3 separate regions of the Homo sapiens genome follow, and all the other regions are linked to region 3. The links are contacts of gene promoters, found by promoter capture Hi-C in human tissues and cell types (Jung and others, 2019). All regions are on one chromosome and are shown on one strand. The core of a region is centred on a gene start or on the middle of the fragment in contact, and the rest is flanking DNA. Distances in the headings are between cores, read along the strand shown.

The links. The method cuts DNA at HindIII sites, captures the fragments that hold promoters and counts their contacts. A contact is called where the count stands out against the background at its distance.
Region 1: a fragment that was not itself captured here is called in contact with the fragment with the promoter of KCNU1 in region 3 in 1 of the 25 tissues and cell types used here (dorsolateral prefrontal cortex).
Region 2: a contact is called between a fragment that was not itself captured here and the fragment with the promoter of KCNU1 in region 3, in 1 of the 25 tissues and cell types used here (dorsolateral prefrontal cortex).

Annotation. Positions count from the first base shown.
Region 1 is chr8:35,441,199-35,445,852 of GRCh38, forward strand. All of the region lies in intron 1 of UNC5D (unc-5 netrin receptor D), which reads left to right. Among named protein-coding and RNA genes, the nearest start is that of UNC5D, 210 kb to the left of the region's middle. The HindIII fragment of the contact is 4,392 bases long and covers 586-4,654 here.
Region 2 is chr8:35,463,902-35,468,742 of GRCh38, forward strand. All of the region lies in intron 1 of UNC5D (unc-5 netrin receptor D), which reads left to right. Among named protein-coding and RNA genes, the nearest start is that of UNC5D, 230 kb to the left of the region's middle. The HindIII fragment of the contact is 3,194 bases long and covers 1,442-4,635 here.
Region 3 is chr8:36,780,961-36,785,711 of GRCh38, forward strand. KCNU1 (potassium calcium-activated channel subfamily U member 1) reads left to right here and starts at 3,414. Exons shown (of 27, transcript NM_001031836.3): 1 at 3,414-3,645. The coding sequence starts at 3,451. The HindIII fragment of the contact is 3,588 bases long and covers 377-3,964 here.

The sequences.
Region 1 (4,654 bases), core at 1,532-4,031, 1.3 Mb before region 3:
ACATACTCCTCACCTATCCATGGTTTCTCTTTCCTAGCTTTCAATTACCTGCATTCAACTGCAGTCCAAAAATAGGTGAGTACAGCACAGTAAGATTTTGAGAGAGAAATAACTTTTATTACAGTATTGTTACAATTATTCTATTTTATTAGTTATTAATCTCTTACTGTGTCTAATTTATAAATCACACTTCATTATAGGTATGTATGTATAGGAAAAAATGTAGTATAGATATGGTTTGCTATTATCCACAGTTTCAGGCATTCACGGAGGGCCTTGGAATGTACCCCCTGTAGATAAGGGTGACTACTGTAATTTAGTCTCCTCCACTTCCTTTTCCTGGTGGTGCCTTGAATTGTGAACTTTTTAATATCCTAGAACAGAAGTAGGTCAAAATGTTAGTTAAGAAACTGAGTATGTTAGACGTGGGTCACTGGCTTTCAAAGTGATTCCTAACAATTGACATCTCTTTGATTTTGGTATAATGAAACTGAAGTATAAAATAAGTTGCCCATTTGGGCTATGATGTATCATAGAGTAGGTTAATGAGAATATGCTGGCTGAAGAGTCTATACTAGATCTTACTTGGGAGGAACGAAGGAGAATCAGCGCCATATGCAATAGAATCCATCGTCTGACCATTATTCATCTAATAAGAAGCGGGACAACCAACAAGAAGCAGAAATTCTTTAAGGGGTTTGATGAAGCGCCCTGTCTTGTGCCAATAGAATTCTGATTCCAGGACCTATTTGATTTGTAGAATAACAAAATAATTTTTTAGCACTATCTATATTCCAAGTGCACCATAGCACATGTTGTCCTCAGAAAACCCTGTACAACCTGTACAGCTGATGTTTCCTTGCAAAACGTGAAATTACTTTCATTTTATTTTTCTTCCTGTTTATTATAAATTGACATAAACACATTTGGCTATTCAAGGTTATTAGATTTTTTTAATTGGTGGTTTTTGTTGTTTTTTAATAGCAGGGACCTACAGTTATTGAAGGTAGGTGAGAGTTACATGTGTCTTCCTTCATAACCTTGCTGCCATTCACAAGTATATTTTGTACCAAATCCTACTACACATGAATATATTTATTGGAAGGAAAGTATGAAATTAGTTATACACCACACTAGGTAAACAGTGACATCCAGCATTCCCTTATTTAAGGGTTCTGCTCCCAGCATGTATGAAAGATTGATTGTGACAAACACAAGAGTTACTCTAGAGGCATGAGGTAAGAGTCTATACTAGATCTTACTTAGGAGGAATTACAGTAATGTAATTTATAATCAGCATTGGTAACCAGAATCTTCCGAAATAGTGGTTGGATTAGAGATTCTTTAAAAAACAAAGCTCAAGTCCCACCTCAAATGTCCGGTCTTTGTATAACTTGTTGATAGAATAGTTTGTTTAGTAGTTTGAATAATATTTCCAGCCAATCCAAGGAATTCAAGCACAACAAAATTCACCAATGAAAATCCATACGAAAAATCTGTTTTATGTTAATTAATAAAAGCTCTCTTCCCGAGCAGAGATAAGACAGCTGAAGTGTTTGTTGTAGCTATTATAATGCTTAGATTATATGAGAGCAAACCCAATTCAGACAAGTAATTACCTTGGGTTGGTTGTAAATTAAAACTCTATTTCTTACACCATCTCTCTCTCTCTCTCTCTCTCTCTGTTTCTCTCTCTCTCTCTCTCTCACACACACACACACACACACACACACACACAACACACACACACCACTGTGCTTAAGTATTTGACAGTAAATTACAGACATCAAAATACCATAATATAGGTGAGGACCATTAGGATCAGGTAGCTTCCTCTGGGTTTACAACCAGTAATTCAGAGAGGAGAGGAATGACCTCATGGCTTTGGACATATTCACATATTTTCTTTATACCATGTCAGGTATCCGAAGCTTATTCTATCTCAGGGTGCTAAAACCCAAGTAACCGTATTTAATGTACTAAGAACACTGTACTGTGCTTTACCAAGAAGGATATTCTGAGAACTTCTGTAAAATGTGTACCTACTGTGTGTGCTGTCTTGGGGCATACAGAGACTTCTCTGCTAGTGAGTCAGTTTGCTCTCTGTGGAAATGAGGAAGGATCTAGGGGAAGGGCATGGAGATCATTCTGTGGGAGTCACAGACTCCCACAGAATGCTGAATCAGGGGGCAGCCAGCATTCTTAGGCTGGAAAAAGTTGTGAAACAGTGAGAGGAGATGGGAATCTAAAGCACAGAGCTGGACCTTGAAAAGAAGAGGCATGTTATGGCATCATCTTCTGCTGCTTGGTCTAAGTGATGGTGGGTTTAGTTCTTTGGTGATCTGCAAAAGAAAGCTGACAGATCTCAATGGGAATCTGCGGAATATTTAGTTCTATTTCAGAAAGAGGGCACTGCATCATTTCTATTTCAGATCGTTGCCTGCCAATGGTAATAGCTTCACACTGGAAAGAATATTTTTTATTATTATGGTTAAATGTACAAGACTATTTTGTAAATGATCTTTCCCAACTCATTTTATTGAGGTCTGATCATTGTCATAAAGTAAATACTTAGGATATAATATAGAATTATATTTGCATATACAGTTCTCCATGGAAGTGTATCAAAAGGTTATATATATTAGCTGATCATCTTTTTTAATGAGAACAGAATCAGAAATTGTATGCTATTTGTAAATCCTCTTAAAAGATATAAGAAAGGGTCACTTTCTTCACTGCTTTTAATATAGAAATTTATGATATTTATTGTAAGTGTTTTTTCTCACTCATTCTTTAAACACATACTTTTGTTGAAAACATAAATTATTTGACAGATTATAACACAAGAATTTGATTTGGTAGTCTTTCTTATCTAATGTTAAAAGTATTTGGGGGAACCTTTTTTTCACCCATCTCTGAATGTTCGTCCTCCATACAGAAGGTGACTGAATTGGCAGTCATTACTGAAAGAAACATCAAATTTCCCATTCTCTATTCTGCCCCACTGAAGTGTGGATGTGTTACAGTACTTGGTTTCATACTCTTTAAACATTCTGCTAGCTCTTCTTACTGAACCGAGTGATAAGCTCTTTGGGAGGACTTGGCTAATTTCAGTTAGTAAGCACGTTCAATCTGAGATTACTCTAAACATTTAGAGAATGTTTATCTCCTGGAAAGTAATCAGCCTATTGCAGACTTCTTTTCTTTCTTTTTTCAGCCTTTATGGAAGGGCCTGATTAATTTTCTTTTTCCCTTTCAAGTAACACATAGAATGAGTATGTGTGTGTGTGTAAGTGTGCATGCATATGCATGATGGCATATACCATGCATATAGAAACACACACTTTCTCTCTCTCTCTCTTCCCAAATTCATTCATCTTCTGAAATCAAATTAGAAGAGAAAACACTCATGCCTTCATTAATCCTAGCCTTAGGAAGATCAATGGCAACAGAAATGAGAGACTATGTGGACCCAGGATGGAAATTTCTGGCCTGGTCCACTGTCCACCCTGAATTGAAGACTCTTTGACTCCTAGGTTTCTATTATTTCAACTACACTTATGCTTCCTCTGAAAACTATTAGAATTCCAAGATTCCATAGTAATACAAACCTCATAGGAATTATCCTTGTCAATAAAGGAGAATAACAAATTTTAGTTAGTAATTTTGATATTTTAAAAGGTGGAAGCCACAGATAGTATCATTTTTGCATTTTGACCAATTGTAATTGTTAACAAAACACCTTCTTCTGTTTACTTTCAAAGTGTCTCAGTTTAGATGATAAACTATAGCATCACCCTAGCTGTGGATCATGATGTTTCCCTCCTAGAGTCATATTTTTATTATTTAAATGTAGACAATCTTTCTTGACCAAGTGATGTGTACATCAGACCTTATCCATTATTCTGTTGGTATCAGAGTGTAGCCCCCAACTTCCTGCCTCCCTGTCTCTCATGCCAGCCCCCAGTACCTCCTGGGTTCAGGGTTCAGTATTTAACTGGCCTCTCCCTCCACTCTGTCCACTCCTAGTCATTCAGTAAACACATAATTCTTTTCAAGATTCTGAAAGACTTTGTGGCAAGCAACTACAAAGGAATTGAAAAGGAGTTAACAAAATAAAAACTATGAATAAGTTTCAAAATGTGGTAGAAATCTTTAAACCTGTTACTTGACATTTTTAGTGAAATATGAACAATGCTAGATTTTCATTCTCACTAAAATAATACATTTAACATTTACTATGTCATAAGTGTGCTTCTGAGTTCCCTGTAAATGTTAATTTATTTAAATTATGGAACAGTCTTAAGGGGTTGGTACTATTATGTGCCATTTTAATTTTTACTTGACAAATGAAGAAACTAAAGCTCAGAGGTTAATTAATTTACCCACTAAAAACAAGTGTTGAAGGTGAGCTTTAAACTTGATAATCTGGCCCAGAAGTCTATGATCCTATCTATAACCCAGTAGTCTAAAGTGTAGTCCCTCCAGTATGGGAACATCAACATCACCTGGGAACCTGTTGCATCAGAAACTCTTCGGGAGGAACCCATCAGCAAACTATAGGTGGTGCTCATTCATGTTTGAGAAATGCACAGCTTTCAATTCTTTTTGTGTTTAAAAAAGTGATTAATACATCTGTAGTATTTATTTATGA
Region 2 (4,841 bases), core at 1,789-4,288, 1.3 Mb before region 3:
AGCTAAATGTAAAGTGCTTAAAAAGTGGGCGGTAGAAAATGTGCAATAAAAGTTGGTTTTCTATTATGCTTTGGTGACAACCTGCCCATAGTAACTTGCAGATTTCTAATCTTATACAGGTACTTATGTATTAGAAAACAGTCGGCCAGGCGCAGTAGCTCACGCCTGTAATCCCAGCACTTTGGGAGGCCAAGGTGAGTGGATCACCTGAGGTCAGGAGTTCGAGACCAGCCTGGCCAACATGGCGAAACCCCATCTCTACTAAAAGCACAAAAATTAGCCGGGTATGGTGGTAGGTACCTGTAATCCTAGTTACTCAGGAGGCTGAAACAGGAGAATAGCTTGAACCTGGGAGGCGGAGGTTGCTGTGAGCCAAGATTGCGCAACTGCATTCCAGCCTGGGCGACAAGAGTGAGACTCCCTCTCAAAGAATAATAATAATAATAAAAAAGAAAACAGTTGACTAATGATTCTCTTGCCAATAGTTTCAAACCTGTGTACTTATTTGCTATATGTGGTATTATCATCACCTGGAGAAGAACCTTGAGAAAGCTGAATTACACCAACACTTGAGTGCCCAGGTTATTTGTAATTTTCTGGGATTGTAAGTCATCTTTGCTGACTGCTCAGCCTATGTGCAGCTTTCATTTTTCACTAGTTTTTCTTTTTTCTTTCCTTAAGCTTTCTTGTTCCTAATCTTGATTCTCTCTTAGCCTTTTTCCTCTGTTTCCTTTTTTTCTTCAACTTTTAAATGGGAGGCAATCTTTGAAGGTCAATTCTAACCTGCTTATTTTTATATTTCATCTAGCCTTTCTGGCCCATTTTATTGACTCATGTAGCTTTAAGTAAATCTACTTTTATCCCTAACCCTGGCCATCTCCCAAGTCATGGGCTACTGTGTTCCCACACATAACAGCATAACATTTTTTTCACACATTTGAAATATGAGTGATTTTGAAATCCTCTTCTTCCCCCTCCAGAAACCTGATAACATTCAGAGCCTTCTCTGTTCTGCCTTTACAGTGATTTTCATGTCTGCCACTTCCTTCATGCAATCCCCATATGAGTTCTGGCACTTATCTGTCACCACCTGGATAGTGATGGTTTTCTACTTGGTTTCCCACCTTGGGTAGATATCTCCTCCAGTCTACCATACATATCACTGCCAGGATTATATTCTTTATGACAAGGTCAAATAATATTTCTTGGCTGGGCGCGGTGGCTCATGCCTGTAATCCTAACACTTTGGGAGGCAGAGCTGGGCAGATTGTTTGAGTCCTGGGGTTCCAGACCAGCATGGGCAACGTGGCAAAACACTGTCTATGCAAAAAGTACAAAAAATTAGCCAGTTGTGGTGGCATGCACCTGTAGTCCCAGCTACTTGGAAGGCTGAGGTGGGAAGACCACATGTGCCTGGCATGTCAAGGCACAGTGAGCCAAGATTATGCCCCTGCACTCCAGCCTGGGCAACAGAGCAAGACCCAACCTCAAAAGAATATTGTATGCTCAAAAGCCACATAAGTCTCAATCACAGTAAGCCAAGGCACAGTGAGCCCAGATTATGCCCCTGCACTCCAGCCTGGGCAACAGAGCAAGACCCAACCTCAAAAAAATATTGTATGCTCAAAAGCCACATAAGTCTCAATCCTTTTCTTTTCAGTTGTATCCCTCCTTATATCCTTTTCATGTGTCTTTGTTTCTTTATGTGAAACTCAATCTACTCATCATTCTCTTAATATTGTCTTCTTCCACTGTTATAAGCAGAATAATGGTCTCCCAGAGATATCCTAATCCCTGAAACCTGTGAATATGTTAGGTTAGATGGACTTGAAGTTGCTACTCAGCTGACCTTAAAATAGGAAGAGGATCTGGATTTCTCAGGTGGGCCCAGTGCAATCCCAGGGGTCCTTAAAAGTGAAAGAGGAAAGCAGAGGAGAGGAGTTAGAGGGGGATGTTATCGTAGAAGACAATGCAGAGAACTCCATCCACCATTGCTCATTTTGAAGGTGGAGGAAGGGACCATGAGCCAAGGTGTGTGGGCAGCTTCTAGAACCTGGAAAAGGCAAGGAAATAGGGTTATTTTCCTATAGTATCCAAAAAGGAACACAGGCTGCTGACAACTGATTTTGCCCAGTGATGCCTGTATTAGACTTTTAACCTTCAGAACTATAAGATGACGAATTTGTGTTGTAAGGCACCAAGCTTGTAGTAGATGATTTGTTACAGCAGCAGGATGAAACTGATACTCCTACCTTCATGCTTTTTCCTCATGCTGATCATAATGTTGGGAATAATCTTCCTCTTCACAAGGAGTTACCGAAGTCTAATAAAGATGTCAAGGTCCAGTACTAATATCACCTGCTCCAAGACTTCCCAGATTCTTACAGTCAGAATTCATCTCTCACTGTCTCTTGAACATAACTAAAACCTTATGTTCTGTATCAGCACTTTTTTTCTTATTAGATACCTGTGTATGCATGTGTGTGCCTAACCTTGGATTTGAGTGTCCAGGAAGTAGGATTTATATATAATTTGTCTTTGCATCCTTCTGCATTATCTAATTCATAAAACTTTACATTCAAGCCAGTGCTTTTTTAATCAGATTGTAAAAATGCAACACATTGGAAATGGTACTGAGCTTTAGAGTCCTAAATGCCCACAAGATGGTGTTATTTCCTTAAAAAAGTCATTTCTATTATCCCATGAGACTATTTCTCATGGACGCCATTCAAAAATGGAAATTCAATTTTTAGTTGAAAATGAGAAAAGTTTGGATTTCAACAGTCCTGTATTTGCCATCATAATTTACAGATTTTTTCATATTTTATGTAATGAGAATTTCATTGATCATATAAAAAGAGAGGTTGGTATTCACATATATTGAAATAAAAACAATCTCTGCCTCATAGGACTTTTCTAGACAGCACAACTGCATGCTCCCAAGTGCAGTATAGGCCAATGGTGGATTGTGTTTCTTTGAGCATGGTTGTATTACGTAGCATATTTTTGGAATTTCTTTCTGCAAGAAGTGAGGAGAAAATGGGAAAATTGTACCACTTGCTGCAACTTAATTTTACTTTTTCTTGGAATAAAAATGATTAAAGTCTAGGATGCTGTCTCCTAGAGACTCTTTGACAAGGGGTGAAATTCCAGGTCATGGAAATAACTATAAAATTAGTGGGTGAAAACATTTGTGATACCTTGTGACGCTTTCTCAGACAAGCAGGTTTTGAGTGTGTAAGTTCAGAAATTCGTACTCCCTCACAGTTTTTTCTTAAGACGAATTCCTTAAAACATGCCCATAACTCAAGTGCCAGTTGTCTTTGAGCACTGGATGGATAGTTTGTAATTTCTAATGTCCTTTCCTGAGAACCCAGCTGAGGTTACCTGTTCTTTCCTCAATGCTGAATTCATCATGGAACTGTGCTCTGGGAAGATGAGGAAGTGGGAAGTGTGTGGACACACCAAATTAGCTGGTTTCAAAGTGGGAGTGGATTGACAGCTTGAAAGCAGAAATTAAGCTATGAAGGCAGGGTAGAAGATAATTTAGATTCAGCTGCAGTACATGAGGTTTTTGGATTCATCCTCTTAGATATGCAGCATTAATGTTCAAACTAATCCAGAACCTTTATATTTGAAACCTTCCATGCCATAATGAAACTATGACAGGCAAAAAAAAAAAAAAAAAAAGAAGAAAAAATCAGACTTGTTTGAGTAACCTATCAATAACTGTCTCCAAATATTTAAAGAACTTTCAGATAGTGAAGGGAGAAGATGTGTTCTCATCCAGTATCTATTTTAGGGCAAAACTAGGACCTTTGGGCAGATGTTGGGGTAGGGTGGAGGGAATAGAACTCATTCAAGATTACCAAGCACTATCTTCCAACAAGAGCTGTGTAATCATGGAGTGTGTTTCTGATAACGAAAAGCTTTCGCCAAATGGCTAGATGATCACTTTTTAGTGGGAGATTGTTTGAGAAGTAGTATTAGATCACCAATGACCAATGTGATATTTTTTCCTACCAAATCTAAAATTCTGTGATCTTATCAAAAGGATATATAAACAATCCTTTTATGAATTCTTTAAGATTCTCTCAAAGAAATTGAGAAATGTGTCAACTTTTTCCGTAAGGATAACACAAAGTTTAAAATTATTAAAGCAGATATTTACCTGCTTTTACTATGAATTAGATAAATTTCTCAATGTCAAAACCAAGATGGCATTCAGAATGTAATAGTTGAAACTAACTTAGCCCGGTAATGTGTTGGTCGTTTAGGGATTGCCCTATATTAGAGTAATGAATAACTATTGAGAGCATGTGCACGTGAAGACACAGATAAACAGGGATAGGCAAGTACTTTTGACCACTCCCAAGGACAGAGATCACTAGCTCTCTTTTACCACTTTATAGGATTCTCTGTTTGCCTGCACTCTTTGAGAAAATCAAAATCATCCTTCACTTTGGGTAAAATAATGCATTGTTGTAAAAGTTCGATTTCAGTGCTGATTTTTCCTATAAAGGAGAAATTAGTTGTCAAATGTGGACATTCAGTTCCCAGCTATCTATTGTATGAGTTGAAATGAGTTGTCAAATTTGAATATTCAGTGCCTAGCTATCTCAAATATAGAAAGCCGTGATTTCCCTAAGTTGGTAGTGTTATTGTCTGTGTCCTCTGTCTCCTTGAGTTATTACATTCATGTTTAAACGTGGAGGACAGAATTCTCTATTTTTTAAAGTTATGTCACAACTTGGAATGGTTTCCAGCACTAACTACTTTATCACCTGGCCAGCTGCAGCAAATTGCTCTGGGACATTTAATCTTGAAAAGTGATTGCAGTC
Region 3 (4,751 bases), core at 2,164-4,663:
AGCAATGTATTCATTCAATCGCCAAATATTTACGAAGTCTACACATTCCCAGGTATGTGCCAGGTACAATACTAGACACAGAGTAATCGGTGATGAGTAAAGCGGAAATGATATCCCGTGCTTGTGGAGCTTATAGTCTTGTGAAAGGAGATAGAAAATAAACCAGGCAACAAGTAAATCACATAACAACAAATCTTGAGTACCATGAAGTGCTATAAAAGAAAGGGTCAGAAAGCCGTAAGAGAGACCAAGGGAGAACTGAAGGACAACAAAATAGCAGCCACTATTGAAGTGAGTGCTCTGGGCAGAGGGAACAGAGGCATTGTGCTATAAGGGCCTGGACCAGGAAAAGGTTTGCATGTCCTCATAGCTAAGAGGAGGCAGTATGATTGGAGCGCAGCATAGATGATGTGTCGTGGGATGGGAGGTGACCAGTCTCTGTGGTTTGCCAGGACTAGGCGGTTTCTCCAGTCACTGGACTTTCAGTTTTGAACCTGGGACAGTTCTGAACAGGGACTGTTCGTCACTGTAGGTTCAAGATGGGTTTGAAGAGACTGATTTTGAAACCACCTGCACATTTTTCTACTCATTTGCAGACAGTAATATTATTATCGTGATAACAGCATATTAGAGGGACAAACTACCTGCCTGTTCGAATTGAATGGAATCCTTTTTGTGTTCATAAAGCAATATCTGCAAAAAGGGAAGAGGTGCCCAGGATGCATCATAATACAGCAGAATCGAAATACTTTGAAAATAGTGTTAGCCCAAGCAGCGCCATCCTGTAAACCCCTGCCATTTTGCACACCCTGGTTAGGGTGGAAAATTCCCCTGGAGGGGCTCGGGCCATGAGAAACATCCTGGCAGGTCCCAGGCCTAACCGTCTGACTGCAGGAAATTCTTCCTTTATCACATCCTGCCCTGCAGCGACCCATACTGCCCCACCTCTCCTGTCGGGACCTACAACTGCTCCAGTCTGTAAGCGGGGCTTGGGCTCCAGCGCTGTCTGGTGTTCCCCTTCTGCAAGTCTTTGTCCAATAAACCTGTGTTGCTGTTGAGCGACCTCCCCTTGTCTCTGTTTCTTTTCTCCATCCTAACAAACAGTAAATAGTAAAAGGGAAGAAAATAAGAAAATTAAAGTGATAATGATAGATAAAAGGGAGAATACTAAGTAAAGGATGTGGATGAATTTTGGCTTGGAAAGTCTGATCTTGTCCACATAGCTGTAAGTGTGTGTGTGTGTGTGTGTGCGCGCGTGTGTGTGTGTGTGCGTGCGCACACACACATATGTGAAAGAGATAAACAAGTGATTTCTCCCTCCCTCCTTCCCTTCCTTCCTTCCTCCCTCCCTTCCCTCATTCCTTCCTCCCTCCCTCCCTCCGTTCATTCCTTCCTTCCTTCCTTCCTCCCTCCCTACCTCCCTCCCTACCTCCCTCCCTGCCTCCCTCCTTCCTTCTTTCTCTCCCTCCTTTCCTTTACTTCTTCCTCCTCCTGTCTTTATAATTAATGCCATTCAAAAAAGGAACTGAAATGGCTAATGGCATCTTATATTGAGTTTTATGCTTTTCAAAATATGTTCACACTACCTTCTTGAATCCCCACAATAATTCTATCAAGTAGGTATTATCTTCCACATAAAATCAAAAGACTACGAACATTAAAATGACTTGTTAGAAATCACACAGTAACTTAATAGAAGGACTGGGCTGGAACGCAGGGCTCCTAACTCCTAGACCAGTGTTCTTTTAAACATCGCCCTTTGTTATTAGCTAGCTCAATGACAGGATTTTGTAGAAATGATAGGTAAGCTTAAAAGCAGGAAATGTAACTGTGGCAGCAGTCCTAGGAAATGCTACAGTTATCTTCTGAAACAGCCTGCCAAACAGTGTGGAGTCATGGCGGGCTCCCAAGGACAGCGTGATGATTCCTCTTGGGCCTCTTCACCTGGTGTCAGGTTATCTTGGTAATAACTGGGGTGAACTAGGCCCTCCACTGGGCTCTGACATTTTGCCTGCCACTTGTGCACACTGAAAGGCATGACATTTCTTACACCTTTGAAAACATCAGGGAAAATCAAAGAAATTTCTCTCATTCTGAACTTTACCTCTGCTGGGCCAAAAGGTTTGCTGCCAGGGCAGTAATAAAAGCAAGAAAGGGGAGAGTTCCATAAAGAAGAGATAAGTGGAATGGATTTATGGGCTGAAATAACAATCAACCAATGACCACACTAGTTAAATTGTCTTCTTCAATACCTGCACTCTATACTATGCCTTTCTTATGTAAAGAATAAACAAAACCTTTTTTTTTCTGTTTCAAGATAATCTTGATTTTCATTGTGTGTAATTAAGGAGTACAACGTGATATTCTTTGGATTGATGCACAGCAGATACACATATTTTCAAGTCACGTGATAATTTAATACATTCACATAATTTGTGTACTTGGGATATCAATCAACTTACATATTTGTATTTTCTTTGTGCTAGAAACATTCAAATTTTTCTCTTCTAGCTATTTTTAAATGTACAATAGATTATCATAAGCTATAGTCACTTCACTGATCTATAGAACATTAGATGTTATTTCTTCTATCAAACCAAATATTTGTACCCATTAATCAACTTCTCTTTATCCAACTTCTTTCCTCAGCCACCCTTCCCGGCATCTCGTAACCATGAATCTACTCTCTATCTTTATGAGATCCACTGTTTTAGCTTCCGCATACAAGTACAAACGCAAAATGCTCTTTTGATAAACTTATGCATAGTGAAGCAGTGACTACAGTCAAGCAAATTCATATATCTATCATCTCACAGAGTTAATCATCTTTTGTGTGCGTGTAACAAGAGCCCTTAAAATCTACTCTTTTAGCAAAAATCCTGAATACAAATAATTTTATTAATTATGTTCTTTGTTCTGCACACTAGATCTTCTAGACTTATTCATTCTGCATATCTGCTCCTTTGTATAAAGGATAAACAAAAACTTTAAAGTACTTCTCTCTTCTGTCCTTCCAAGCCTACTAAGCACGTGGCATCCTCCCAGATAGAGAACCAACTCATTCACACACATAGTTGGCTGTTGTTTCACTCCGAAAGAGTTGATTTGAAATTATTTGACTGCATTAACTGAACTGATAACCAGCTGATCATTGCTACAGATAATGGGATTTCTTCAAGGCATAGAGAAAGTCGTAACAATCCGATCTAGAATTATGATTTTTTTGACTATTCATATTGTAGGCCCCAGCCATCTCCAGTTGTGTATTCATTCACAACCCATGAGCTGGCACCGGGGGATTGGCAGACCCTTGTTCCTGGAACTTCTCACTGGTTATCACGCCTAATGTTGGAACACTGTGGTACAGTGAACTCTGATTCCTGGAATTGTTACCAGGCGACCACGGCGTCATCAAATGACCTGGCAATTCCGTCTACTGATGTCTCGAACATGTTTCAGACTAAGCTACGAAATGAAACTTGGGAAGACTTGCCAAAAATGTCCTGCACAACTGAGATCCAAGCAGCATTCATTCTCTCTTCCTTTGTGACCTTCTTCAGTGGACTCATCATCCTGTTGATCTTCAGGCTGATCTGGAGATCTGTTAAAAAATGGCAAATCATCAAGGGAACAGGAATTATCTTGGTCAGTTTCCTTGTTAGGGATCCCTCTGTGTGAAGTCAGAGATGAGTTTGGGGTAGTTTTGTGTTTAGTAAAAGATCTAAGCTTCATTCAGTTTTTCAAGCTAACAGAGTCAGCTTCTATAGCCTGGTGCCTCAGAAAGGGTGGTAAGCCAGACCTCAGGCCACATTCTGAGGCCTGAAGAGACAGGGCCAAGCCTCTTCTCTCTCCCATCACTGGAAAAAGCAATGTCTTGTATGGATAATGATTAATGTTAGCTCTGGAAACAGAGGTCACTGTTCTGAAAAAAAGTTCATAAACATTATGTCCATGCCTCTATCTCGAATTTTAACAAGACAATTGTGCTAGGTCATAGAAAGGAGGTGAAAGGGAACAAGACATCAACATCAACCTTGCTTTCATAAATTGTTCATGCATAATGCATATGTACTGACGTGTACATTGCCTTTTGTATACCATATGAAGACAACACATTGAGTTGCACATACACAGAGAAGCCCATGCATACATGCCTGTGCCATCCAGGCATAGATGCAAGGACATTTCTTATACCCAAACAAGCTTAGCAGGAGTTGATGTTGTTGAATAACAGCTGGCAAATGATGATGATGAGAATAAATGATGTATTATACAGATAAGGCATTGCTTAAGAGCTTGAAATAAAGCTCTCAAATGCTGTGTAATGGATGTTCTATTACCAGAGGTCAAAGGTGAAGAGTTTTACTATACCCTGTGTAGTTTGTTTCCAATTTTGCTTCCCAAACTTTCTTTCTCTGATAGATTATAGCAATTTCCATAACACAACACATTTCACCTGTGCATCATAATATTGAAAATTTGCTTAAAACATTTCTTTTAGTGCTAAAACCTACATAAAATATAATTCATAAATTGATAAGTTTTTAAAGTTATTGGTAATATGGAATTTTGTTTTCCATATTTGAAAATTATCCAATACTGAAGCTTATAGATTTTGTTCCTAAACAAGTTTATTCTATTGATTATTTCTACATTATGGATTTTAAGCTGTGGCACAATAATTGGAGAAAGAATTCTGGGATACTGACATATGGGTAAATAGCTATGATGGATCTGCCTCCTTGTTTCTA